5 separate regions of the Homo sapiens genome follow, and regions 1, 3, 4 and 5 are each linked to region 2. Evidence: promoter capture Hi-C in 16 types of primary human blood cells and fetal thymus (Javierre and others, 2016). All regions are on one chromosome and are shown on one strand. Each heading gives the region's core, a stretch centred on a gene start or on the middle of the fragment in contact. The rest is flanking DNA. Distances are from core to core; before and after follow the strand shown.

Region 1 (4,526 bases), core at 1,007-3,506, 620 kb after region 2:
ATATAAAGCTGCATTTATAAATAGCACATGGTAAAATTACAGTTGTTATAGAAATAAACTCATAGAATTCATAGAGAATTGTCTTTTGATGTAGTACTCTCATTTTACAGCAGAGAAAACAGAAGCTAAATGCCTTGTCCAAGGTTATACACTGGTTACTAAGCCAGGAATCAATTTCAGCTTTCCTTAATTTTATATTTGTAAATTGTACATAAAAATAGAGAACAGAATACAACACAGAACAAAACATGATAGATAATGTGTTAGGCATTTCTACACCCCCTTTTGTAGTTTCGTTTTCACAGAAAACTATAAGGTCTGGGTGTTTTTAACCTCACTGAAAGTTGAAAACTTACTAAAGGGTAAGACTGGTGTGGACCAATGGTGTTAAGGAAATTTACATGAATGACTTGTCTTAACTTGGGATCAGTATAATGGAGTTGAGAGAAGAGTATTCCATGCGAAAGTACCAACATTTTGAAATTAAGAGACAATGAGACAGGTATGAATGGGATGGATATGTGTTTTCCTGCTATTGTATAATAGTTAAGATGAACACCAAAAAGACACTGGAAAGTAAAACTCGTAGTAATTTATGTCTGTTATTATGAACCATTCAGTAACTATTTCTCTCTCCTCTCCTTCTGGGACTCCTGTGGTGCAATTAGTCAAATATAGACAATATTTGAGCCATTGTCTTCATACTGTCCTTTAATTTTTTAAACATAGTTTCCTTTAGTTCTTTGGACATATTTATAACAGCTGCTTTGAAACCTTTATCTCCTAAGTCCACTATCTGTGCCCCCTAGAGACAGTTTCCATTGACTGCTTCTTTTTTTCTTGTGTGCGTGTGTGTGTGGTCACACTTTCTTGCATGTCCTATGATTTTTTAAATTGAAAACTGGATATCTTAGACCTATTTTAGCAGCTCTGGATGCTTGAAATCCACCTCCCCTGGGTTATACTGTTGCTGTTGCTGTGTCTTGCTCAGTGACTCACCTAGAGCACTTCTGTAGTTTATCTTCCCATAGTCACTGATGTCTATTTTTATTTTTTTATTCTTGTTTTTATTTTTAATTCTGTCTTTCTAGGATTCACTTTTGGGTAGCATAATTTAGTATTCAGCCAAAGATTCACCAAAGATTGTGCTTAAACACCTTTAACAGTTCAGGTATTACGGCTCACACCTGTAATCCCAACACTTTGGGAGGCCTAGTAGGGAGGATTGCTTGAGGCTAGGAGTTTGACACCAGCCTGGGCAGCATAACAAGACCATGTCTCTAGAAAAAACCAAAATTACCTGGGCTGGGTGGCAAATGCCTGTAGTCTTAGCTACTCGGGAGGCTGAGGTGGGAGGATTGCTTGAGCCCTGGAGTTTGAGGCTGCAGTAAGCTATGATTGCACCACTGCACTTCCAGCCTGAGCTACAGAACAAGATTGTGTCCCTAAAAAACCAAAAAACACCTCTGACGGTGAGGTTTCACTCTTGCCAGTGATCTGTATGGGGTTGGGGAATGCATTCAAAGAGAGGGCTGGGGAGGAGCATGACTTTTTAAAAGTTAAAGGCAGTGGATGAAATGACAAAGGAAAAGATAAATCTTTTAGGCTACCTAATGAGAGTTTAATATATTCCTTGCCTCAAACAGTATAAGCCAGATCACAAGTTAATTGGAATGTTATTTGCATCAGGTATAATACAAGGTTATCCTTAATGTCTGAAGAGCTCATTAAGACAAATACATGAAGATTAATAGACAAATGGGAAAGGTTGTGAACAATTTAAAAAATGGTAAACACTAAGGCTTTGAAAAAAAATAGTTAAACTCACCATAAAAATTTTAATAGGCATATTTTCTGTAATCAGTGAGCAGAGATTTAAAGAGAGAATCTTTAGTTCTAATGGTGGAAATGTAAATCCATACAGAGTTTCTCAAAAGTAATATGGCAGTTATATATAGAATTCTGGAAGTGATCAAGTTCTTTAATTTAGGGCTTTCTCTTTAATTTCTAAATTTCTTGAAATCCATTCCAGAGAATTAACCTGAAATATATTCAAAGATGCTTGTGTAAAGGCATTTTCAGAGGATTATTTGTTATAGTAATAAATTGCAAGCAACCCAAAATAAACAGTATGAGATGAACAGTACCAGAATGATTAAGCGATCAGTGGTTTGTCCATTTGTAGTTACTAAAGTGTACATGAGGCTTTAAAAATACAAAAAACATATATTTTCATGTTAAGTGCAATAACAGAATATGAAATTACACAGGTGATATGATCTCATGGTATTACAAAGTTGACATAGAAGATAGAAGACATTGTGCTAGAGAATGGTTTCTTTCCAGTGGAGGAATTTTAGCTTCCCACTAATGTAAGGGATAGTGATTATGGGGGAAGTCTTTGGCACCACAGTCCAGAATGTGTTGGAGATAGAAACGGGCCTCTGAGGCTAGGGAGGAAGCCAGCGTGGAACATGGCAGGCACACAGGCCTTGGGCTTGGAGAGTGACGGGGAAGGGAGAGGAAATCAAGATCTCTTAAATGCAGATCTTTTAATTTCAATTAGTTTTTGTGACACAGCCAGCCACTACTCTTGCCTCTATTTTCTCATGTACGTACTGTTTGAAATCAGTCTGTTAGCTGTGCTTAGGGTGCCCTTGTTGTGTAGGTAGTTCAGATAATTAAGATCCGGGCGGCTTGATGCAGTGGAAGGTGTACAGCCTTTTTGTTGAATCGTCCATGCTGCTTAGCCTGGGTGGCCAGGAGCTTTGGCCCTAGCTTCCTGAGCCCAGTTATCTCATTTGTAAAATGAGATTGGTAATGCTGGCCCTGACCTGGTAGTATTAAGTGGACTGGCAACTGGCCTTAAGGCCTCCAGCAAAGTGCTGGACCTTAGAGGTTTTTGTGTGTATTAAGAAGAGTATTTAAGAGCATTGGGAACAGAAGGCATCACTGAGGCCACCATACCATTCTGTTTGTAAACTGGAATCCCCGTAGATTTTGAGGGTGACCTGTGAAAGCTGTAGCCAAGGTGGCCTGATCATATAATTAAAAGAGACAGGTTTGTGACCTGATGTGCCCGAGCTTGGTGGATTTGACAGTGAAAGCACACTCGTTGCCCCCATGGCATGGTGACTGGCATCTTTCCTGATGGGGATCAAAGGAAGGGGTTGGATGCCTAGGCTGGAGAGAATGATGGTCTGGAGTTGCCTCTCGGGGGGATGAGGAGCACCCCGCTCCGTCATTAGAGAATGAGGTTTCTTAAGTCGCTGACTGGGAAGACACAGTCCTTATGGCCTTCCCTGCTCAGCGATATACACTATGGTTTGATTTTTTAGGCTTTCTGTATTAGTCCGTTCTCACGCTGCTGTGAAGAAATACCCGAGACTGGGCAATTTATAAAGAAAAGAGGTTTAATTGACTCAGAGTTCCGCATGGCTGGGGAGGCTTCAGGAAACTTACAGTCATGGCGGAAGGCACCTCTTCACGAAGCAGTGGGAGAGAGAATGAGTGCCAACAGGGGAAATGCCAGATGCTTATAAAACCATCAGATCTTGTGAGAACTCACCATGAGAACAGCATAGGGGAACGCGCTGCGTGCCCCTGCTCCCCCACACCCCCGTGCCATGATTCAGTTACCTCCACCCTGTCCCGCCCTTGACACATGGGGATTATTACAATTCAGGGTGAGATTTGGGTGGGCCATAGAGCCAAACCATATCACTTTCCCTGTTATTTAGAGCATTATTATAATACTGTGAATATAATGTAATAGGTAGCATCACTCTTTCTAATCTGTAAGTGTATAAAACGGTTATGTATCCTTAGATGCCATCACACACATCCACGGGCCTTTCCTGTGCTCCAGAGAAGCCGCACACCTGTCTTTTCCTCCCTGCTCCTTTAGTTTGCGATGGCCTTCAGATGCCAGGCCAAGGAGGAAAACCTGAGCCTCCTGGTGACAGGGTGTCTTCGGTCTCCATCCATCAGCAGTGACCCTAAACCCTGGCGTTGCTTCGTCTCTTCATCTTCTGCTTTGCCCTTGGCTTTTCTCCACCTCAATGAAGATTTCTGTTAAATCTTTTGACTCCTGAAGTCTCTGCTTGGGGCCCGTAGGTGGAGATGGTTAATGATGAGGGGCCCTGAGGTATCAGGGAGGGTGTGCAGCTTGTGGGATCCCCTCTTTTCCTGGGCGGCGAGGTGCCTGCTGGCTTCTTTCACACCTGGCTCCCATTGTTTTTCATGGGATTTCCTTGCTGTATCTGGACTAAGATGATACAGATGAAGGTTGTCAGGTAGGCACTAGTGGAATGCTGACACGGAGAGGAGCTCAGTGTTTGGGAGGATTGAGTGACTTAATTGCAAGAAAGGCTGTCTTGTGAAATAATTACCTCCTGACTGAAGGAGTCATTTAAGAAGCAGCTCCAAGTAAGACTCTACATTGGGCTGGAAGGTCGAAGGGTGACTGGCTAGATGCCTTCCTACTATAAGCCAATGACTGGCACTCTTGAGTAACCATTATAACC
Region 2 (5,089 bases), core at 2,065-4,564:
AGACTCCCCTTCCTTTTCCAGGTCTTTTTCTTGATCCAGGAGATAATTTACTAAGAGTCCGGCACCTGAAGTTTGATAAGAAACATTTACAAAGTCCAGGTGAGGTGGGCCACACCTGTAATGCCAGCACTTTGGGAGTCTAAGGCAGAGGATCACTTGAGGTCAGGAGTTGGAGACCAGCCTGGCCAACACAGTGAAACCCTGTCTTTACTAAAAATACAAAAATTGGCCGGGTGTGGTGGTGCACGCCTGTAGTTCCAGCTACTTGGGAGGCTGAGTAGGGTGGATCGCTTGAACCTGGGGGGCAGAGGTTGCAGTGGGCCAAGATTGTGCCATTGGACTCCAGCCTGGGCAACAGAGTGAGACTCTGTCTCAAACAACAACAACAACAAAAAGAAACATCTACAATTCATTCTCTTTGAAGCCTGCTACCTGGAGGCCTCATCTGCACAACCCCTTATCTTAACCCAGACACTTCCTTCTACTGATTCCAAGTCTTTAAGTAAACTTTCTACCAATTGCCAATCAGAAAATCTTTGAATCCACCTATGACTGGAAGCTCCTCTCTTGGAGTTGTCCCACCTTTCTGGGCTGAACCAACGTACTTCTTACATGTACTGATTGATGTCTTCCGTATCCCTACCATGTATAAAACCAAGCTTAGCCCGACTACCCTGGGCACATGTTCTCAGGATCTGCAGGGGCTATGTTACAAGCCATGGTCACTCATCTTTGGATCAGAATAAATCTCGAATATTTTAGAGTTTGACTCTTTTCATTGACACTCATGCAGCAGACTATTGCCATCATCCAGGCCACACACTGTTAAATGGAAAAACCTTAGACACGTGTATGTTTTAACTGAGTGTATTTGAGCAAAACAAAACAGATTCCCGAATGGGGCAGCCCTCCAAACCAGAGCAGATAAGAGAACTCCAATCAGGAACCTGATCTGACAGCACCTATAGGAAACAGAAGTGTGTGATGGAGACAGCTAATTTGATTATAACTTCATTGCTTAACTGGTTACAGAGTTTCCTGCCATGAAGTAAAGCTCAGTTACTGTAGTTAAACTCCTTACTGGTTTGGTCTGGTAGGTGTAGTTCAGGGTTTCACTCTGTTATCAGAAAGGGGTTCCAATCCAGACCTCAAGAGGGTTCTTGGACCTTGTGCAAGAAAGAATTCTGGGCGAGTCCATAAATTGAAAGCAAACTTATTAAGAAAGGGAATAAAAGAATGGCTACTCCATAGGCAGAGCAGTGGCACTGGCTGCTTGACTGAATATACTTATGAGACTTGAAGCCAGCTGGACTTCCTGGGTCGAGTGGGGACTTGGAGAACTTTTCTGTCTTACAAGAGGATTGTAAAATGCACCAATCAGCACTCTGTAGCTAGGATTGTAAAATGCACCAATGAGCGCTCTGTAGCTAGCAAGAGGATTGTAAAATGCACCAATCAGTGCTCTGTAAAACGCACCAATCAGCAGGATCCTAAAAGTAGCCAATTGCAGGAAAGATTGAAAAAAGGGCATTCCGATAGGGCAGAAACAGAACATGGGAGGGGAGAAATAAGGGAATAAAAGCTGCCCCACCCCCCCACCCCCGCCAGCCAGCAGCAGCAATCCACTTGGGTCCCCTTCCATGCTGTGGAAGCTTTGTTCTTTTGCTCTTCATAATGAATCTTTTTTTTTTTTTTTTTGAGGTGGAGTCTCGCTCTGTGGCCCAGGCTGGAGTGCAGTGGCCCGATCTCGGCTCACTGGAAGCTCTGCCTCCCAGGTTCACGCCATTCTCCTGCCTCAGCCTCCTGGGTAGCTGGGATTACAGGCGCCCGCCACCATGTCCGGCTAATTTTTTGTATTTTTAGTAGAGACAGGGTTTCACCGTGTTAGCCAAGATGGTCTCGATCTCCTGACCTTGTGATCCACCCGCCTCGGCCTCCCAAAGTGCTGGGCTTACAGGCATGAGCCACCACGCCCGGCCTCTTCATAATAAATCTTGCTGCTGCTCACTCTTTGGGTCTATGCCACCTTTAAGAGCTGTAACACTGTGAAGGTCCGCAGCTTCATTCTTGAAGTCAGTGAGACCATGAACCCACCGGCAGGAACTAACTCCACACATAGTTATAGTTATCTCTTGATTATAGGCTAAATAAGGAGGGGATTATTCATGAGTTTTCTGGGAAAGAGGTTGGCAATTGCTGGAACTGAGGGTTCCTCCCCTTTTTAGACCATATAGAGTAATTTCCTGATGTTGCCATAGCATTTGTAAACTCTCATGGCGCTGGTAGGAGTGTCCTTTAGCATGCTAATACGTTATAATCAGCAAATAATGAGCAATGAGGACACAGAGGTCACTTTTGTGGCCATCTTGGTTTTGGTAGGCTTTGGGCCAGTTTCTTTACTGTGTCATCTTATCAGTGCGGTCTTTGTGACCTGTATCTTGTGCCCACCACCTCATCCTGTGGCCAAGAATGTCTAACCCCCTGGGAATGCAGCCCAGTAGGTCTCACCCTCATTTTACCCAGTCCCTATTCAAGATGGAATCGCTCTGGTTAAAAGGCCTCTGACATGTTGAGCCATCCTTTCACCTCAGCCTCTCAAGTAGCTGGACTACAGGTGTGCCACACCATCCCCTGCTAATTTTCCAAAAAAATTTTGGTAGAGAAGGGGGTCTCCTTATGTTGTCCAGGCTGGTCTCAAACTCCTGGGCTCAAACGATCCTTCCATCTTGGCCTCCCAAAGCATTGGGATCACACGCGCGAGCCACCGCACCTGGCCCCACAAGTTTCTTTTAGCACCATGACGGTGGCTTCAAATAGGGCGGCAGTGGAGGTAAGAGGCCATCAGCCACAGGAGGAGCGTGGGTGGGAGGGCAGGAGAGGTCAGAATGCCTTCCAGGGGTTTGGGCCTCAGCGTTGGAGTGATGGAGCTGCCCTGACCTGAGACGGTGGAAAGCGAAGGGGCCTCGCAGCGAGCTGGTTTGGGGTTCAGGGCAGAGGTTGCGCCTGGAGCAGAAAGGCACCTGACTGCTATACTGGGGGCACATAGTGGGCCTCGGCACTCCACCTGCCAGCAAAATCATTTTCTATAACGCCGCAAGCCTAAAAATGGGCCGATAAACACAAACCAGACCCTGAACCAGATCGTTGTTAACTCTTCAACCTGCCTTCCAGCCGAACCTCTTAGGCCAGAGCTGGGACCAGGCCGGGTTGGGCGTCGCGCTTGTCAATCATCTAGAACCGGGTGTGATTGAGCGAGTTGGGATCCCACTGCCGACAGCCGCGCGGAGGCGGTCGGGAAACCGGAAAACGCTTCCAATGGCTGTGTTTCCGGCGACGGCGCGGGGGCAGCTGGGAATCCGGAATGCTGCCCGATGGCCCTGGGTCCTCGCTGTGGGGCAATCCGGGCTTGCAGACGAGGTAAGGTCGATTCCATTTGGCCCGGGGATGGTCACACGCGCGGGGGCCGGAACTGCCGTCGCCGGCGCGGTCGTTGTCGCATTGCTCTCGGCCGCACTCGCGCTGTACGGGCCGCCACTGGACGCAGGTACCCGACCGCTGACCGCCTCTGCTGGCTCGCGGGGGGGAAGCGCCGCCGAGGGGCAGCCCGCGCGCGGGGCCGGGGCGCCGTGTGGCCTGCGGGGCGGAGTAGGGAGAGGACGGAGGCCTCCTGGAACGGCGCGGCGACGGCTGGGCGCGGCTTGGGTGATGGGAGCCTCCGTGCGGGGTGACAGAGGGGCAGAGGGTGGCGCCGGGCCGGAGCCAGTGCGCGTCCCAGGAGCGGCGGAGCCCGCGCGGTGGCCGGGGAACGGGGGGCCGAGGGCCGAGGACGGTAGGAGGGCCCTGGGGCGCCGTGGTGCGCTGGTCGGATCCGTCTGCTCTGCTCTGTCCCCGCTCCCGGTCTGGGAAAGATGCTCGCCAACTGCGGGCTTGCTGTTTGGTCGGAGCTGGATACGGGGGCCCTCCTGGGGCCCAGGGACGCGGCGGGCGTGCAGGCGAGCTGGCCGGCTGAGCGGGCTTCGCGCACACCAGGAGCAGGGCCGTGTCTGCATCCCCAATTTGAAGTCCCAGTGCGACTGGGCAAGTACAGACCCTGCACGTCCTTGGACGAGAGGGACTGGATATTGCGACGCCTGGGCCGCAGAAAAGGACTCCACCAGCCAGGCCTCCTTCGCCCGCCCCCGGTTCGGGGTGTGTGTGTGCGTGTAGGAGGTCCCTTGGGGAGGGAGGCTCACCTGAGTCATCCCCAGAACCTGAAGTGCTGGCCAGATGTCCCCGAGGGCCCTGCCCTGGCCTTGGCTGGTCCTTGCACGCTGAGATGCCTTTTCAAATAGAACGGATAAGGTAGAAAGAATTTAAACAGGAGCTGAGCAAGTGCTTGGAGCCCCATCTCTTCATAGGGTTTTTTTGTCTTTCTGTTTGCCTTGTTGGTATTGGTGTATCTAACATATTTTATACAGGAAGTAGTTCGTGTATATCTCATTTCTCATAAGGAGAGATTGCTGTTATCCACCTTGGTATAGAAGATAAATAGAAGCTCAGAGAAAGTGACTTAGCCAGGATTCTCCAGCCAGTGAGTGGCCGAAATGGTTAAACGCACCATTTGTTGCTGTAGTCATTAGATAGATTTTACCTTGTGTGTATGTTGGGCATCGTCAGAGAGTTTGGCTTTTTGTTTTCATCAGCACACACTGAGAATGCACTGGGTGGCGCTGAGAGGGTACTCTACACTGCACCTCACTCACACCAGCAGGGAGGCTTCTTAACACTTTATTTAGAGATTTATTTGTAGCTCTTTACCTTAAATTCACACACCGTGATTAGTAGCAAGATTTTTCATTGCGCTTGGTTGAGGATTTATTATCAGACTGCCTAAACTTTTACGAAAAGCCAGGTAGAGTTGTATATTACTGAGGCTTTAGGAAATATTTCAGTTAACTTAGGGATTGTGGTTAAATGCTCTAAATTAGTTATAACTCACATTAACTTAAAGTATTTTTGTTTTTTTAAGTAGAATTTTCCAGTACTAAAAGCACTTTTAGCACAAAGCAGCAGTGATAGTCTTCCCCAGACACGCTTCCTTAAAACAAAA
Region 3 (4,553 bases), core at 1,563-4,062, 590 kb after region 2:
GCCTTGGCCTCCCGAAGTGCTGAGATTACAGGCTTATGCCACCATGCCTGTCCTAAATGATGTGCCTTATAATTAACGTAGATCTCTGTGGCAGATGGGGCAATAGCACAGATATGTAAAATCTACAAGTAATCCTTAATTTGACTCTGCTCCCATTGAATACTTTTTTAGAGGTTGCTCACAGGAGCAGAAGATAGTAACTTTGAATTTCATTGTAGATGTTTTCTCTGCTTTTGCTGTAAGTGGGGGTGCTAATTAGGACGAAGTGGCTTTAGAACATGGCTTTAATTTGTACACTCAGTCTTGGGATTGTCAACCATCTAGGTTTGAGACGGTAGGATTTACAAGTAAATAAGAGAAGTCAGAATCCAGTAGCTCTCAGGCTATTAGTTTTTACCTCTACCTTATGGAAATGTATTTTGTATATGTTCTTGGTATCATTGGCTATGTGTTGGATGTAAAATAGATAGCTTTGTTCTTTACAAAGACAAATTTGGAAGTTACCACATAAACTTGGTACTTTTAAGCTTTTAAACTATAGGAATGACCCCTCCTAGATGGAAGGAATGCTTTGCTTTTCTGTTTGCCCTTTGTTTTTGTTTTTGAAGTCAGTGGGAAGGCAATACCCGTACGTTTTCTTTTTGAGACAGAGTTTCGTTCTTGTTGCCCAGGCTGGAGTGCAATGGCATGATCTTGGCTCACCGCAACCTCCGCCTCCTGGATTCAAGCGATTCTCCTGCCTCGGCCTCCCGAGTAGCTGGGATTACAGACACGTGGCACCACACCCGGCTAATTTTGTATTTTTAGTAGAGGCGGGGTTTCTCCATGTTGGTCAGGCTGGTCTGGAACTCCCAGCCTCAGGTGATCCACCAGCCTCTGCCTCCCTAAGTGTTAGGATTACAGGCATGAGCCACTGCGCCTGGCCTCGTTTCTTTCTAGATTTCAGCTTTCCTTGATTGGCAAACAGTAAGACAACTGCAGCAGCCACAGTTACTGTGGACATTCTTGGGAAAATTGTCATTGTCTTTCTGCTTCTGTCTCTTAAAATCATATGTGTTCTCAAGGCATTTAGTTGACTGTAACTGGCCTTTTAATTGGATAGAAGAAAGCTTGGTGATGGGGAAGTACAGAATGTCTTCAGGATGGCCCTCCTTGTATGAGAATTTCCTGGAAGGCTGTGGCCAGCAGAGCACTGCAGACCATGGCCGGGAGCCCTGTAGAATTTGCTGGAAATGCCCTTTTAGCTGGTTTTGTGCTGCGGGTTGCCTGAGACCCCTGTGTTCTCAAGCAGAATGTGCTCTATAGAGATTACTCGTAACCTGCCCTCAGCAGGTCCTGGGAAGTGTAGGGTGAGGGGGTGACCTGAGAAGAATTTAAGATCGTTGGAGTAGCAAGCCCCCATCTGTGGGGTCAGGCAGGTGGCGTGAAGGGAGGAGCTGGATGGAAGGGCATGGGTGCTGGGTCCTCTCAGGACAGCCCCTGCCCAGCTCTGAGCCAGCTTTACCTGATGGGATATAGACCTGGTGTGGCCACATCCTAAATGTGTCAAGAGCAGTGGGGAATCTGGGTTTTTGGTGATACCTTCAGACTTTTCGATGTTGACCGTTTAATTCAGAATTTTATAAGATACGTGCAAGCCAATCCAAACACCTGGGAGGAAGCTGGGACCTGGAGACTTAGGGTTGCTTTCATGGAAGCCTCCCTGGAGTTTAGGACATGGCCGGGCACGTGCCTCTCAGAACAGCGATTTTCCCAGCAAAGTTTTTCACAGCCTCATTCTCTCTTTTTTTTAATTGAGTCACTTTTAAGAATAAATTGCTATTATTTATTTGTTGGATGGCCTGTGTGGAGTGTCTTATGAAGGGAGATCCAGAGAACAGAACTAAGCCTCTTACTGTCTGTTTACTTTGATTCTGTCAGCAACTTCATGAGGTGAGTAGAGCCTGTGCTGCCTTAGTGTTGGGGAAATAATCCTCACAAGGTTCTCTCTGGCTGAAAAATACACTGGATTTTCTCTTTTAAATAAGAGTCTTTTCCTTCTGTTGCTTATTGCATGACACATCGTCCTGGAAAAGTGGGCATGTGGTGGTGATGCTTTGGAGAATCAGTACTTGGTTGTTCTCCGCTCCATAATCAAATTTGAGAGGCTTTTTTTTCCAGGTGAAGGGAAAATCTTTAAAAGTTATAATACATTTCACAAACTTTTGAAAATTATATTAGAGAAGAACTGATTAATAGTTATCTCCAGATAATTTCTGGAAAGGTAGTTGGGGAATGAATGCAAGTCATTTATGTAGCAAATAATTTGTTCTTTGTTTTCTGCATAAATGGGCTGCTTTGTTGTGGTCTTTTGGTGTGTCCCTCTGTGCTGCCCTAGTTTTAAAGTCTAGTGTGTAGTGTGGGTGCGTGGTATCAGGCGCTCTCAGCTCTCTTTTTCTGTGTGCATGCTCTTTGCAGACATCGGGCTGGGGAGTGACTCCGTGTGTGCCCGGCCCTCGTCTCACCGCATAAAGTCTTTTGACTCCCTTGGATCACAGTCTTTGCACACTCGGACTTCAAAACTGTTCCAGGGCCAGTATCGGAGTTTGGTAAGTTTGAGAGATTTTGTTACTTAAATATGTTTGGGAAGGATATGAGTGTGTATGGATATATCTGAGAAGATACGTATGCCTCCATTAATGGTGTTAAACAGGGCAAAGGTAGCTGGACTTCGCCTCCGTTGTGCCTGTAATCTGGTTTGGCATTTGCTCATTACCAGATGATCCAGATATTATGCTTAATGATTGCTTTTGAGAAACTCATTTGTTTTTAGGTTGTATTGCAAGACTCATGACTCGATATCTGGAGTGATGCTGCTTTAAAAAAACACACCCCTTGTCATTTGCATGGCATTATCAGCTATGCACATGTACAGAAATATTGAGAATAAGAAATATGTATGGAAAAGTACTCAGCTCCGTAAAGAAGAGATGGTTAAAACTAAAGAATCTGGCCTTTCTTCTCTTCATGAAAGCATGGCTTAGTGTGCTTTACTAAGTCAGGATTTAGTTTACAGGGGAGGGAATCCCTTAGAATGACTGATTGGGACGCAGAGAAAGAAACTTAGATGATCGAACAGTTGTCGTGGAGAGTGAAAAAATACTCGTTTAAAAATGCTCAGGATACAGGCTGTGAGTAAAGCCCATGGAATGTAATAGTGAAGTTGAAAATGAGAAACTCAAGCAGGGTTAAACAGGGCTGCCTGTAGAGTGTTGGGGCAGAGCCAGGGCTGCCACTCTGCAGTCCTGCACCCTTCTCTGAGCTGCAGCTGGCGGGCAGTGACTTCGATTGGCTGCTGGGGATACCACTGCTTTCTCGCGACAGTACATACTTTGTTAGAAACATAGTGATCTTGTAACGTGAGTCTAGAGAGAACCCTATTCTAGAGTCATGAAGGGTCCATGGATTTTCCTCTGCCTTAACATGGGGGAGTATTGCTAAGTAAGCTGATGGTGGTCCTCAAGAAATAAAAGTTAATTTAGATAGAGTCGTGATTTGTAGAGGGAAATAAATTACAGTGGTTTATGAAGCATGTGTGAAAAATGGAAAGATATGCGAGGAATGTGATTTTTATGTTTCTGAACTTTTTGAACTCAAGCTCGCTATCATTGCTGTGTCTCCTCTTAGAGGATCCCCGAGGGGTCTGACTGCTTCAGGCGTGGTGGGCGGTGGGCTGCATGGCCTGAGTGCTGCAGTCCTCACAGCAGCCCCGAGAGGCCTGGCTGTTGCTGTTTCCTGCTTTGCAGGAGCCTGTTCTGGAAGAATTCTGTGGACTACCATTGGGAGCATTAGGATTCCAAGTTAAAGAGGACTAAACAAACCACTTTAAACACACTTGAAATGAGCTCTGTAAAACACATGAGGAAAACATAAGAGAAATCAGCTCGCCTTGGGTAAAGCTGTGATTTGCTGTCTCACCCGTTCACTGGTGGCAATTTTCATCTGATTTTTTTTTCTTTTTGAGTAGAGGACTAGATTACAAATGTATAATTTTAAGTAAAATAAAGTTAAATGTAATGTTTGTTGGTAATGTTACTGAGATCATAGTAAGTATTGGATTAATTTTTCATTAGCTGCTGAAATTTCGTTATACTAGAAATAGACTTGCGCTCTCTGACCTGTGTGAAGTCTTTTTGGGCTGATGTTTTGATTGGGTGCTAGAGAGCTGCTTTCTCTTTGATGGAATGTGCAAGACCTCTCTCAGCCATGCTAGGTAAGAATGAATGTTTCTTTACCCTTAGGTTTTTCTGTGTAGTTTATCGATAGCACTTTGTAGTAGTTTTCTTGGATTAAAAATTAAGAACTTATCTTGAAACAAGAATGGCCTAACATTCCTTTGAAGCTGGGCAGTGGATGCATGGAGGGCCACCTGTCACTCTCTCCTTTTGTGTGCATTTGAACATTTCCATGATAAAAAGTTAAGCTAAAAGGCAACTTGCAGTTTCTTGAATGTCAGTTTTGAGATCATATTAAACCTAAGCTTTGAGATTGCGTAAGACGCTTCCATCCCCCAG
Region 4 (5,194 bases), core at 59-2,558, 670 kb after region 2:
CATACTTCCTTTGACTTTTTCAAGAAAGGAGAAACAAAACCAGACACTGCTTTGACGTTGTTGCTAGAAGGGATGTCTTACATAATTTTATCCATCTATACATTATTTCCTATGAAAAGATGACCTTACAGTGGCTTCATAGCATGACCTGCATCTCACACAATTCCCTCCCCCATGCAGGGACTAGAATGTGATCGTTGCAGGAAGTTGATGGCTTCTATTCTTGAAATTGTGGCATTAGCTGCCGTCCCTCTCAGCCTGTGTTTTGAAGGTCGCGCACTTCCTCAGAATGCCGGCCCCACTCCGTTTCCAGTTCACAGCGCCACACAGCTTGTTCTCCCATTAAATGCACCTTACTATTGTTGGCTAATTTGAGGTCATTATTGGCTGATTTTGAGAATGACTTATTTAACTTTTCTCATTTAACTGTCATTGTGATGGAATATTTTGGGTTTTCCAGGAATATAAAATGCATTAATGGCACACCGCTCTAAGAAGTTAATTTTTGATTAACTTTGTTTTGATTAAAGTTGAGTTTTCTAAGAACATAATTGGTTTTAATACCAGGGTTTGGCAGTGTTCAGTAAAGATCCAGATGGTAAACGTTCTCTGCTTTACAGGTTCAGGCCTCTTGCAGCTGTACTCTGCCCTTGGAACACAACAGCAGTTTTAGACAGGCACAGGCCTGCCTGTGTGCCAGGAAAACTTTTTTAAAAAACAAAACTAGGCGATCAGGCCTTAGTTTCGCCCAGTACTTTATCACCAGGTGAAGAATAATACGTGGCTGGGGGGGAATCACCTTCCTTCTTACAGCCACATGCCCTGTGTGCTTTTGTGAAATTCTCATCTTTTTACTAGATGAAGTACCTTTTTTCTATAAATGTTACTCCGTAGCTAATAAATGTGGCTAGTGGATGTCTTTTGAGTGCTGGGGCCCCAGCTAGAGCTGCCCCTCCTGTCTGGGGCAGACGCCGTGAGGAGCCCCACGCTCGGCCCAGGTGGCGCGAGCTAGTGTTTGGCCCCAAAAACTGACTGCTGAGAGCCAGAGATACGAATGAAATGATAAATCCTGAGGTTTATTTCACATGGAGTGTTTAAAGAGCAGAAGGAAGTGCGTGATAAGTGCCCTTTCGCGGTGAGCACGCGAGTCTCATGTTCTCTGCCCTTCCCGCTCTGTGCCCTTGGCAGCTCCCCTCCCACCCGGTCACTCCGTCCAGCAAGCACGCAGACAGCAAGCCCGCGCCGCTGACGCCCGCCTACCACACGCTGCCCCACCCCTCCCACCACGGCACCCCGCACACCACCATCAACTGGGGACCCCTGGAGCCTCCGAAAACACCCAAGCCCTGGAGCCTGAGCTGCCTGCGGCCCGCGCCTCCCCTCCGGCCCTCAGCTGCTCTCTGCTACAAGGAGGTGAGGTCCCTTGACCACTCAAACAGCCAGATGACGGTGAGCATGCCTCGGGCCCTGGGTGTGCCCACGTGCTGGGCCTTCTGTGTACAGCAAAATGCACCCTAACTCCTAGAGAACTGAGAAGGGGGGGTCTGCCTTGGTTCTCTGGTTATCTGCTCTGCTGCTGAGAGGCCCGTGGTAACCTGTGTGGGAAGGCGATGTGCAGGGTCCCCCTCCTTTCTGCCATGCACAGGGGGGCCTTTACTGCACTTGCCGGAGGAGTGTGCCGCCAGGGGCCAGGAGCTGGAAAGGCGCTGAGCCCAGGTGGCTTTCACTCCCTGTGTGTGAGGCCATCGCTCAGCATCTGCACGCTGTCTGCTGCGTCTAACGACCCCTCCTCTAGGTTGGGGATCCTGTCCAGGAGCCCTGCATTTTGTCATCCAGAAGCCATTTGAGATGAAGAGAACATTTACTAATACAAATGAAAAACAATCACTTAGGCGGTTTCCCCCTTTGATGCATAAGAAATCATGATGCGGTCTTTGCTTGTCTCTGTTCTCATCCGGCATTTTTATATTTGCTAGGCGCAAATAAAGTACGATTCCAATGAATAAATAGAAGTGTTAACACTTCCTTACACTTTTACCTAAACCAGCTTGGATGAGGAAAGGAAGTGTCTTTAGAAATCTGTTCTGAGAAGTACTTTCACCTGAGGAAGCTGATAATTGAGATGAGAGTTGTTTTCATAAGCAGTTGAGCGTGCATGGTGGTGAGGTATGAGGAGTGGCGGTGAGAGTGTGGGTATCGTGCGCGTCAGTGTGAGCAGCAGTGCCCGTTGGTGGGGTGTGAGTGAGCGTGAGGATGGTGACACGCTCTTGCCTGGCATTGTGCCTCTGTGTCTGGTCAAGGCCACATTTGCCAAGGGAACTGGAGCAGACTTTTTCTACATTCTTGCCGGCAGCCCTGGGGGTTTTAAGGCCCACAGGAAAGTACTGTATGAGAAATTAGGATCTGTGCTTTTCATTTTTTGTTCTGAGTCTTTGTTTTTATGATATCTTTCAGGTAATCATGTGTGCAAGTCAGAATTTCCATTTTCTATCATGGGAAGTTACTTGAAGAATGTTGCTGTTCCTTATTGTATACTTTAGTGTGCACAGTCTAAAGAAAAAGTGAGCTACTACAAGAACTGGTGGAGACTGAATTACTAGGGAAGAAAATTGGGATAAAACTGTTGGGCAAAGAAGTAGAAAGGGCAACGGAAGGGGTATTGAAGTGAAGATAAACAATTTTTTTTGATAAGTCTGGCTGCATTTGCTTTGCCAACTCCACACTGGGAGAGAAGGGCTCACACCGAGCAGCTGCCGTCCAGTGTTGCTGAGCACCGCCCAGCAGTAGCGTGGAGAGTGATCTTGCAGGGTGTGAGAAGAGGACATGGAGGCTCGTGGAGGCCGCTCTGCAGCCCGCTCTGCCTGGCTCTGGCTCAGGTGTGCTGTGTGCTCTGTGACCCTCTGCGCCTGCAGGTGCCCTCGGAGCACGTGAGGGGCGGGCGTTGGCTCTTCAAGGCTCTCCATCTCAATTTGCTTCGAATTAGGGAAGCCATGAGCACATGTGTATAAATGTGTCTTCTGGAACAGATTGCTGCTGCATTTCTAAGAGCTTTCCAATTTTTTATAGAAATACTTTTGTTTAACTTTTTGAAGGCTATTTTAGATTCAGAGTTTGTTACGTGGCTGTATTGGGTGATGCTGGGGTTTGGGCTTCTGGGGTACCTATTACCCAAATAGGAAACATTGTACCCAATGGGTAGCTTTTCAAAACTCACCCCCATCACCTTCCGCCTTTTGGAGTCCCCAGGGTCTGTCATTTCCATGGTCATGTCCATGTGTACCCATTGTTTAGCTCCCAAGAAAAGACTTTTAAAGATAATTTTAAAAACCAAGCTTTGTTTCCTCTGTTTCCAGCCTGGTTCATTCCATAGCACATCTCATCTTCTGAGTCTTGGTCTCGCGTTTAGCATTCGTGATGGTTTATGTCGTTGGGGTGATGCAGAAACCAGCCTTTTTTTGATATCGGTATTTAACACGTGCTTGACAGTTGACACCTTACCTGCTCTGTTGGGACTTGCTTTGCTCACTTTGTTTTTTGCCGTCGTCTTCTGTGCTTGTTTGAAAAGCTGTTTGAAGAGGTAAGGGGTGGGCCATTCCGTTGTGAACACTCTGAGCTGGTGTGCATGTGGCCCCTGCACAGCAGCCCTGGCCGAGCTTGGCTGTGCTCCTGGCACTCAGAGTCAGGTAGCTGAGCACTCGCTCCCTTTTCTTCTCCCTGAAACTTCAAATATTTTCTTAAAGCAATTATTTTTTACTTATCTGTCATTTAATGACAACCTTAGTTTCCTCCTCTCTTTCCAGTTAGCTGTGCCAGGGGATAGGTCTGTCCTAGGGAGCAGCTGCCCCCTCCTCTCCTCCTCCCTCAGGAGCGTGCAGGATGTCTGTGCACACCAGCGCCAGCCTGCCTCCTGGTGACACCTCTCATCACAGGACTAACAGGACCCAAATGACACGAGGGGTTTTATTAGAATTAAAAAAAAAAAATTAGCCAATGACTAATACTGAAAATGCCCTATTGATTTTTAAAAATTAACGTTCAGAAGCTGGTAAAGAAAAATCAAAGTAGGAAAAGGCGAGAAGCTCTTATCAGTGGCTATAATAATTTGGGGTTTTATACCTTTACAGCAGCCTTTCTGATATGCCAGTGAAAATGATTGGCTTTAGAGTATGTTAGCATTTTCTTTTGTCTTTCCCTAGGATCTTAGTAAGAGCCCTAAGACCATGAAAAAGCTGCTGCCCAAGCGCAAACCTGAACGGAAGCCTTCAGATGAGGAGTTCGCGTCCCGGAAAAGTGAGTACCTGCGGTCCGTGTGGTGGAGGACGTGGCCTCCTGGTCACGTAGGCCATGGCTTTCCTGGGATAGAGGGAGGCTTGGTGGCTTTCTGAAGACTCCAAACAAAAGTAAGGTCTGCCCCTTGAGGCAGTGATAGGAATAAGCCACGTAACATTTACCCAAGCAAGCAGGAGAAGCGCCTTTGTGTCAGTGGTGAAGCCTCCGTGCCAGTCCCGGCACCACTGCCTTATAGCCCCTTCCTCATCCAGGAGCTGGGGCCGGACCTGGAGGGCTCTCCTGCTCTTCTGGTTCTCCCTCTCGCCTATAAGATATTCCACCCACACTTCCTGAAGTGCCAGCATCTCCCAAAGCACCCTGTGTCTGTTAGAAGCGTGACCTGCTGTGTTCTCCTGTGGGTAGCACCCACCCGTGCTGTTCTCTTGCTGGTCTCTCTGCTGTTGGACCTGTCCTGTCTGCTCCTCAGGCCTAGGGGTCTGACTCAGCTCTGGGTTCCTATGTGGCCTCGCAGCAAGCACCTGGCACCTGTTAGGTGCTCGGTAGATAGCTTTTGAATAAGTGGAGCTCTTTTCAGAAGTAAGTGATTTTCCTGGGGGTGACTGCTGGGAAGGGGTGCACGTGAACAGATTGCTGTGGACTGATGGGTGCAGCCCAGGGAGAGAGAGCCAGCTCTGGGAAAGTTGCAGGATCTGTCCTACAGGGCTCTGCCCTGCCCCGCCCCTGTGTCTGAGCTCAGCCTTTGTTGGTCCTTTGCCTTCACTGCTCACTTCCTCCAGCCTCAGGAGGAGGCCCAGCAGCCGTCCCACACGCTCACTGTGCCATGCCACTGCTGGCCTCCCCTCACCGCCACCTTATCATCAATCAGCCCAGTGAGGTGACCGTGCTGGGGTGTTCATTCTTTTCT
Region 5 (5,051 bases), core at 1,595-4,094, 570 kb after region 2:
CCACTGCCTACGTGCCTGAATTACTTCCTGTTATGGTGGTTCAGGTGGTTCTCAGGCCCTTTGATTTGAGGCTTTCTTTAGGGCCTCAGGCTCCTGTTGGCACTGGAGGGTGGTGGTGGGCATCTAAGCCCGCAAGTTGTGGGATGTGGGAGAGGAGAAAATGTTACTTTGCTTTCAAGAATCCAAAGATTCTATAACATTTGTGAACTTAGTCATTTACTTCTGAGGTCTGTTTTACTTCCCTTACGAGCTTTTCATTACCAAGCAAAAAATCAGTCTTTGACTCAGACTGAAGCCATGAACTGAATTTTATCCATGTGAGCTTCAGGAGTGAATAGAAGGAAGTTGATTGACAGGGAAGGAACACATACAGATAGGATATTTTCCATTTTATGAGAAGTAACGGTGGAAATACAGAAGAGGTAGAAATGTAAGATTCTTTAAAACATGCATGACAACAGCTTAGTAGTAACAGCTGCTGCTTCCAGAGGAGCTTCTCAGTACCAGAAGCCCCAGAAGGCTGTGTTGTAAGGCAGAGATAGTGATCACACTACAGGAAGGAGAAGCTGAGATGTAGAGAGGTTAAGGAAGATGCCCAGTGTCTAACATTTACTAGGTGGCAGAGTTGGTATTTGAATCCAGGTTTATGGTGATTTCAGAACTTCCAAATTGAGAATTAAAGATCAGCTCCAACAAGAGAATGAGAGCAGTACAGTTGGTGGAAGATTATAGACACCTGGAAATTTAATCTTTATGGGGAACTATATACTGTAGTGTCCATAATGTTCTGCATTTTGAATTTTTAATACGTGTGTTTATATAGATAATATACATAATCTGCATCATGCAACTGGAAGGACATTTAAGATTTAAGATGTCTGATTGCAAAAATGTTAGTGTTCAAAATGCCCCCCATCATTCTGGGCATGATGTGTAACTCAGTGAAGGCCGTTGAGTGTAGTGAAAGACTTACTACTTGGAAAATAAATTGGAGCAGGTGAATGGCCACTTTAAAATTTGAGTAGCTCCTGTCCCTGTTGTATTTGCTAATTGTTTATCTCTTAGTGGTGAATTTATTCAAAATTCAAACTTCAACAACTTTATGGATTCTGTGTGTATTGGTTACATTGTGAAATACATTTTTTAGTGTGGATCATGGTCAAGAGTTTGAACATTGATCACATGGGGGTCTTAGAAGGATCAGGACAAGGGAACTTTGGAATTGGTAAATTTGTGTATTAAGGGTTTCAAGTTGTCCCAACTTCAAATTTTACATCCCTTTGCTGAGAGAAGACCTGGAAACCTACTTTTGTCTTGTTTATGGCAGTTGATTGGAATCTTAGTTTAGAACTGGCCCCTGGAAGAGGTGGAGGTCATTTTGTAGGACTTGGAGCATGCCCAGAAAGAGATGGGACAAAGTCATGAGATCCTTTGACTGGGGCATTTCTTGGATAGATCATGTTTTTTTTAAACAACAACAACAACTGGGGAGCATAGTCTGGATTTCATTGTGGTGGAGAACTTGGAGTATTTCTCCAGGTGCTGTTCATCAGTTTGCACTCGGTTCTGAGGAAGTGTCTTGAGCTGGGTGCCTTGCCCTGAGGGAGTATAGAGGTGAACAAGATATCTGTGCCCTGAGGCATCATGGAACAGTGCACTGAAGTGGAAGGAACCCATGTAACCTGAATAGGGGGCAGCAGCTGTAAATGCTTCAAGAGAGGCGCAGCTGTCATGGGGTTGGGACTCAGAGAGGGGAAGAAACATTCCAGGTGGAAACAGGAAAGAGCTTCAGGTAGGAAGCGACCTTTGAAAGGGCAGAGGGGCCAGACATCATGCAGGTAATGCTGCTGCTTGGTTGGCCTGTGAGCTTTTCAGGTTGATGTGTTGAACTGAACCAACAAAGCGTTGTGGATTTGGTGAGCTGTCCTAAATGTGGAGTCAGGGGAAATGTGAAAAGCCTGCAGCATTGTGCATCTTGACTGCTAGGGGATGGAATAACTTGAACCTGATGTTTGTTCAGAGGAAGCTGGGAGGGTTTTATTCACAAGAGTGGCCTTAATTCACAAGAATTGGAGACCAGGAGGGTGAGAACACCGCCGTTCTGGATCGCAGCAGTCTCGTTGATCTTCACGGTGTCGAGCGTGCTGGTGTGCCGCCTCCATACGACAGGTCCCTGTTCGCCGGAGGGTTCAGGACTTCCTTGGGAAGCATTTCTGAGACTCTTTTCCTCTGTACCTAATGGAGCCCCCGTGTTCTCTGGCCAGCTTCCTTCCACGGGGTGCTGAGTTACTGCCCCGTGTGTCATACAGTGGACCTTCAAGCTGCCTTTGGTGGTAAAAGCTTGTCTGCATGTGTTGCATACAAAAGGCTTTTCTCCAGTGTGACTCCATCCGCCTTTAAATCTGAGGAGCCGGAGAGGATGAGAAGGTCTTCCCACACCTTGTGCATCTCTGTTGCTTGGCTGTGGGCATGGCTGGGCCTCTTAACAATGGTGTCATGCCCAGGGGTGGGGGGAACGTGGCCTGGGGTCTGACGAATACCAGGAACTTCAGCTTTGATGGAGTTGGCTGGGCTCTGATAAACTTGGAGACTGCTCCCACCTTCCATCTCAGCGTGGCCGCTCTCAGCTCTGCCCCCGCCATCGGGAGACTTGGACTAGATGTTTAGAAAGCAGTTTTAGGGTTCAGAGAAATTGGGCCTAGCATCTGTGGGCTCATACAGATATGGTTCGTCATCTCCAGTGGTTCAACTTACATGTTTTTTTGACTTTGCCATGGTGCAAAAGCAATGCACATTCAGTAGAAACAGTGCTTCGAGTACCCATACAGCCAGTTTTTCAGTATTCAGTACGTCACATGAGCTATTCAACGCTGTGTTATAAAATATGCTCTTGTGTGAGATGATTTTGCCCAACTGTAAGCTAATATGAGTGTTCTGAGCAAACTTAAGGTAGCTAGGCTGAGCTGTGATGTTGTGTAGGTTAGGTGTATCAAATGTATTTTCAACTTCACGATGTTTTTCAGTTTACAGTGGGTTTAACAGGATGTACCCCATTGTGAGTTGAGCATCTGGGTGGCCCTACAAGGTAGAACCAAGGTGTAAATAGTCAAGAGTTAGAGGAAGGCAGATTACTAGCAGTCACATTGCACGCACGCTATGTCATTGTACTCGTGCTAGCAAGTTTTGTTAAATGGCGCTTATTTTGAAATACATATGCAGTGGACATGTACTGGGAGTTAGAAATTAAGTGCAGAAGGCAGACAGCTATAGCATTCTATAGCATTTGGATGGGAGTATTGGCACCTTTTTTTTTTTTAAACAAAAATGTTCTCAGTGAAAATGTGGTTATAAGCTTATTTTTTTCTATTTCTCTCAGAAGCTGTCTGGCAAATGTTTTGATTCTTTGGATGTTTTTTGATGGGGTCTACCCTCAGGTCTCACACCTCCGGCATCATCTGTGGCTTCGTCTTTTCTAATCAAACCTCCTTTGAACTTTTCATGTTGTCTGCTGAAAGTTACATTTGCATAGCATCAAATAGTGCATAAACTACATGTACATTGTCATTTTATCAATTATTATAAAGTCCTGTGGATTTTTACCTATAAACCCTCTTCTAATCCATTTCTTCTCTTCCCCATTATGGCCTCTTTATGAGGGAGGGAATTTAATATACTTGCTCTGTCTCTCACCTTCCCCACAGCCCCTCTAAATCCCAATTTTTGCTAATTGTACCGGTTTTATAATTTTCAATTTTTTAGTAGTCACCTTTTAACTGTATTTCTAGTATTTCTTGACTTGTCATCTTAGACTTCTCTCCTGTGTAAAAGATGAGGAGCTCTGTAAGTCTCCACCAGGACTTGTGGGGAAGGGTTGACGGGGGTCACTTGCTTATGGCCGGGTGCGGGTGGGACTGCATTTTTTAACCCTCTCTGTGTGGTTGGGGTAGGATGGTGTTATGGTGTGACTCTGTCCCCACCCAAATCTCACCTTGAATTATAATAATCCCCACCTGTCAAGGGCGGGACCAGGTGGAGATAATTGAATCACGGGTTGGTTTCCCCGCCGTTCTCATGATCGTGAATTAGTTCTCACGAGATCTGATGGTTTTATAAGGGGCTTCCCCTGCTTTGCCTGGCACTCATTCTCTCTCGTTGTCCTGTGAAGAGGTGCCTTTTGCCGTGATTGTAAGTTCCCTGAGGCCTCCCCAGCTATGTGTAACTGTGAGCCAGTTAAACCTCTTTTCTTTATAAATTACCCAGCCTTGGGTATTTCTTCATAGCAGCGTGAGAACGGACTAATACAGATGGTTATTGTTGAAGTTTTTTGACCTACTAGGCTGCCCTGTCCTGGTCCTTTGGCTAGAGAGGATAGGTCTTTCTTGAGGCTTTTCTTCTGTACCTGTTGGTGTTTCTGGGTTGCTGGCTTGTTTAGCACTCAGTTTGGAGCATTTGAGGCAAAAAGAAAACCCAGAGAACCCGCTGGCATGGTTCCCAGCCCTGAAACCCTTAGCCGGTCTGCCTCCTCTCTCACATTCTGAGGCTGACGTTTGTTTTATAGGCAGCATCCAGGGCTTTTAGCTGCATTCAGCTGGAGGGAGGGGGAGATGTGTCTTCTCCATCTTTTTGGGAGTCATAGGTCAGTTCTCTTTGTGCTATGCTGTTATTTCCTATCAGGTGTGGCCTTGATGGGTTCTTCCTGTTTGTGAATAAAAGCCCAGTTGACTGGCATCAGAGCGGAGGGGACTGTGCAGTCCTGTGTGTGGGTTACCGGCCCCGTGGGCTTCACTGTGCGGGTTGTGTGTCTGGGAGCAGGTGGGGAGAACCGGATGGAGGGCTCTAGAAGCAGCTACACGAGCAGAGCTGAGGGAGACACTTTCTCTGCACCTGTTTCCTGTGTCACACTTCAGATGGGGGATAGTCCAGGCTGGTGGTGGAGCTCCCAGGGGATTTCGCTTCTGGGTAGAATTGTCATTTTTTTTTTTCCTCAGAGACTGTTGTGTGGGCCTAGTGGTGCATCAGGTTCCGGTTAGAATCCAGTGCAGGCCGCAGGC

What was found. Contacts are between HindIII fragments. The CHiCAGO score rates a contact against its expected background, and 5 or more counts as called.
Region 1: a contact is called between a fragment that was not itself captured here and the fragment with the promoter of NAXD in region 2, in 1 of 17 cell types (naive B cells). The highest score is 5.0, in naive B cells.
Region 3: a fragment that was not itself captured here is called in contact with the fragment with the promoter of NAXD in region 2 in 3 of 17 cell types (naive B cells, total B cells and total CD4 T cells); the score reaches 5.3 in naive B cells.
Region 4: a contact is called between a fragment that was not itself captured here and the fragment with the promoter of NAXD in region 2, in 1 of 17 cell types (naive B cells). The highest score is 5.3, in naive B cells.
Region 5: a fragment that was not itself captured here is called in contact with the fragment with the promoter of NAXD in region 2 in 1 of 17 cell types (total CD8 T cells); the score reaches 6.7 in total CD8 T cells.

Annotation. Positions count from the first base shown.
Region 1 is chr13:111,235,520-111,240,045 of GRCh38, forward strand. All of the region lies in intron 6 of ARHGEF7 (Rho guanine nucleotide exchange factor 7), which reads left to right. Among named protein-coding and RNA genes, the nearest start is that of TEX29, 83 kb to the right of the region's middle. The HindIII fragment of the contact is 7,694 bases long and covers 1-4,526 here.
Region 2 is chr13:110,612,231-110,617,319 of GRCh38, forward strand. It overlaps NAXD (NAD(P)HX dehydratase), which reads left to right and starts at 3,315. Exons shown (of 10, transcript NM_001242882.2): 1 at 3,315-3,417. The coding sequence starts at 3,372. NAXD-AS1 (NAXD antisense RNA 1) reads right to left here and starts at 4,123. Exons shown (of 1, transcript NR_182301.1): 1 at 852-4,123. RefSeq lists enhancers at 2,396-3,323, 4,225-4,274, 4,295-4,344 and silencers at 3,525-3,774, 3,785-3,944. The HindIII fragment of the contact is 4,814 bases long and covers 1,651-5,089 here.
Region 3 is chr13:111,207,415-111,211,967 of GRCh38, forward strand. It overlaps ARHGEF7 (Rho guanine nucleotide exchange factor 7), which reads left to right. Exons shown (of 22, transcript NM_001354046.2): 4 at 2,458-2,588. Among named protein-coding and RNA genes, the nearest start is that of ARHGEF7-AS1, 61 kb to the left of the region's middle. RefSeq lists an enhancer at 4,274-4,553. The HindIII fragment of the contact is 3,410 bases long and covers 1,108-4,517 here.
Region 4 is chr13:111,281,951-111,287,144 of GRCh38, forward strand. It overlaps ARHGEF7 (Rho guanine nucleotide exchange factor 7), which reads left to right. Exons shown (of 22, transcript NM_001354046.2): 16 at 1,189-1,413; 17 at 4,197-4,290. Among named protein-coding and RNA genes, the nearest start is that of TEX29, 36 kb to the right of the region's middle. The HindIII fragment of the contact is 4,043 bases long and covers 1-3,330 here.
Region 5 is chr13:111,180,040-111,185,090 of GRCh38, forward strand. The region is part of intron 2 of ARHGEF7 (Rho guanine nucleotide exchange factor 7); the gene reads left to right. It also overlaps the pseudogene SALL4P4. Among named protein-coding and RNA genes, the nearest start is that of ARHGEF7-AS1, 34 kb to the left of the region's middle. RefSeq lists enhancers at 4,101-4,240, 4,701-4,830, 4,931-5,051. The HindIII fragment of the contact is 1,012 bases long and covers 2,339-3,350 here.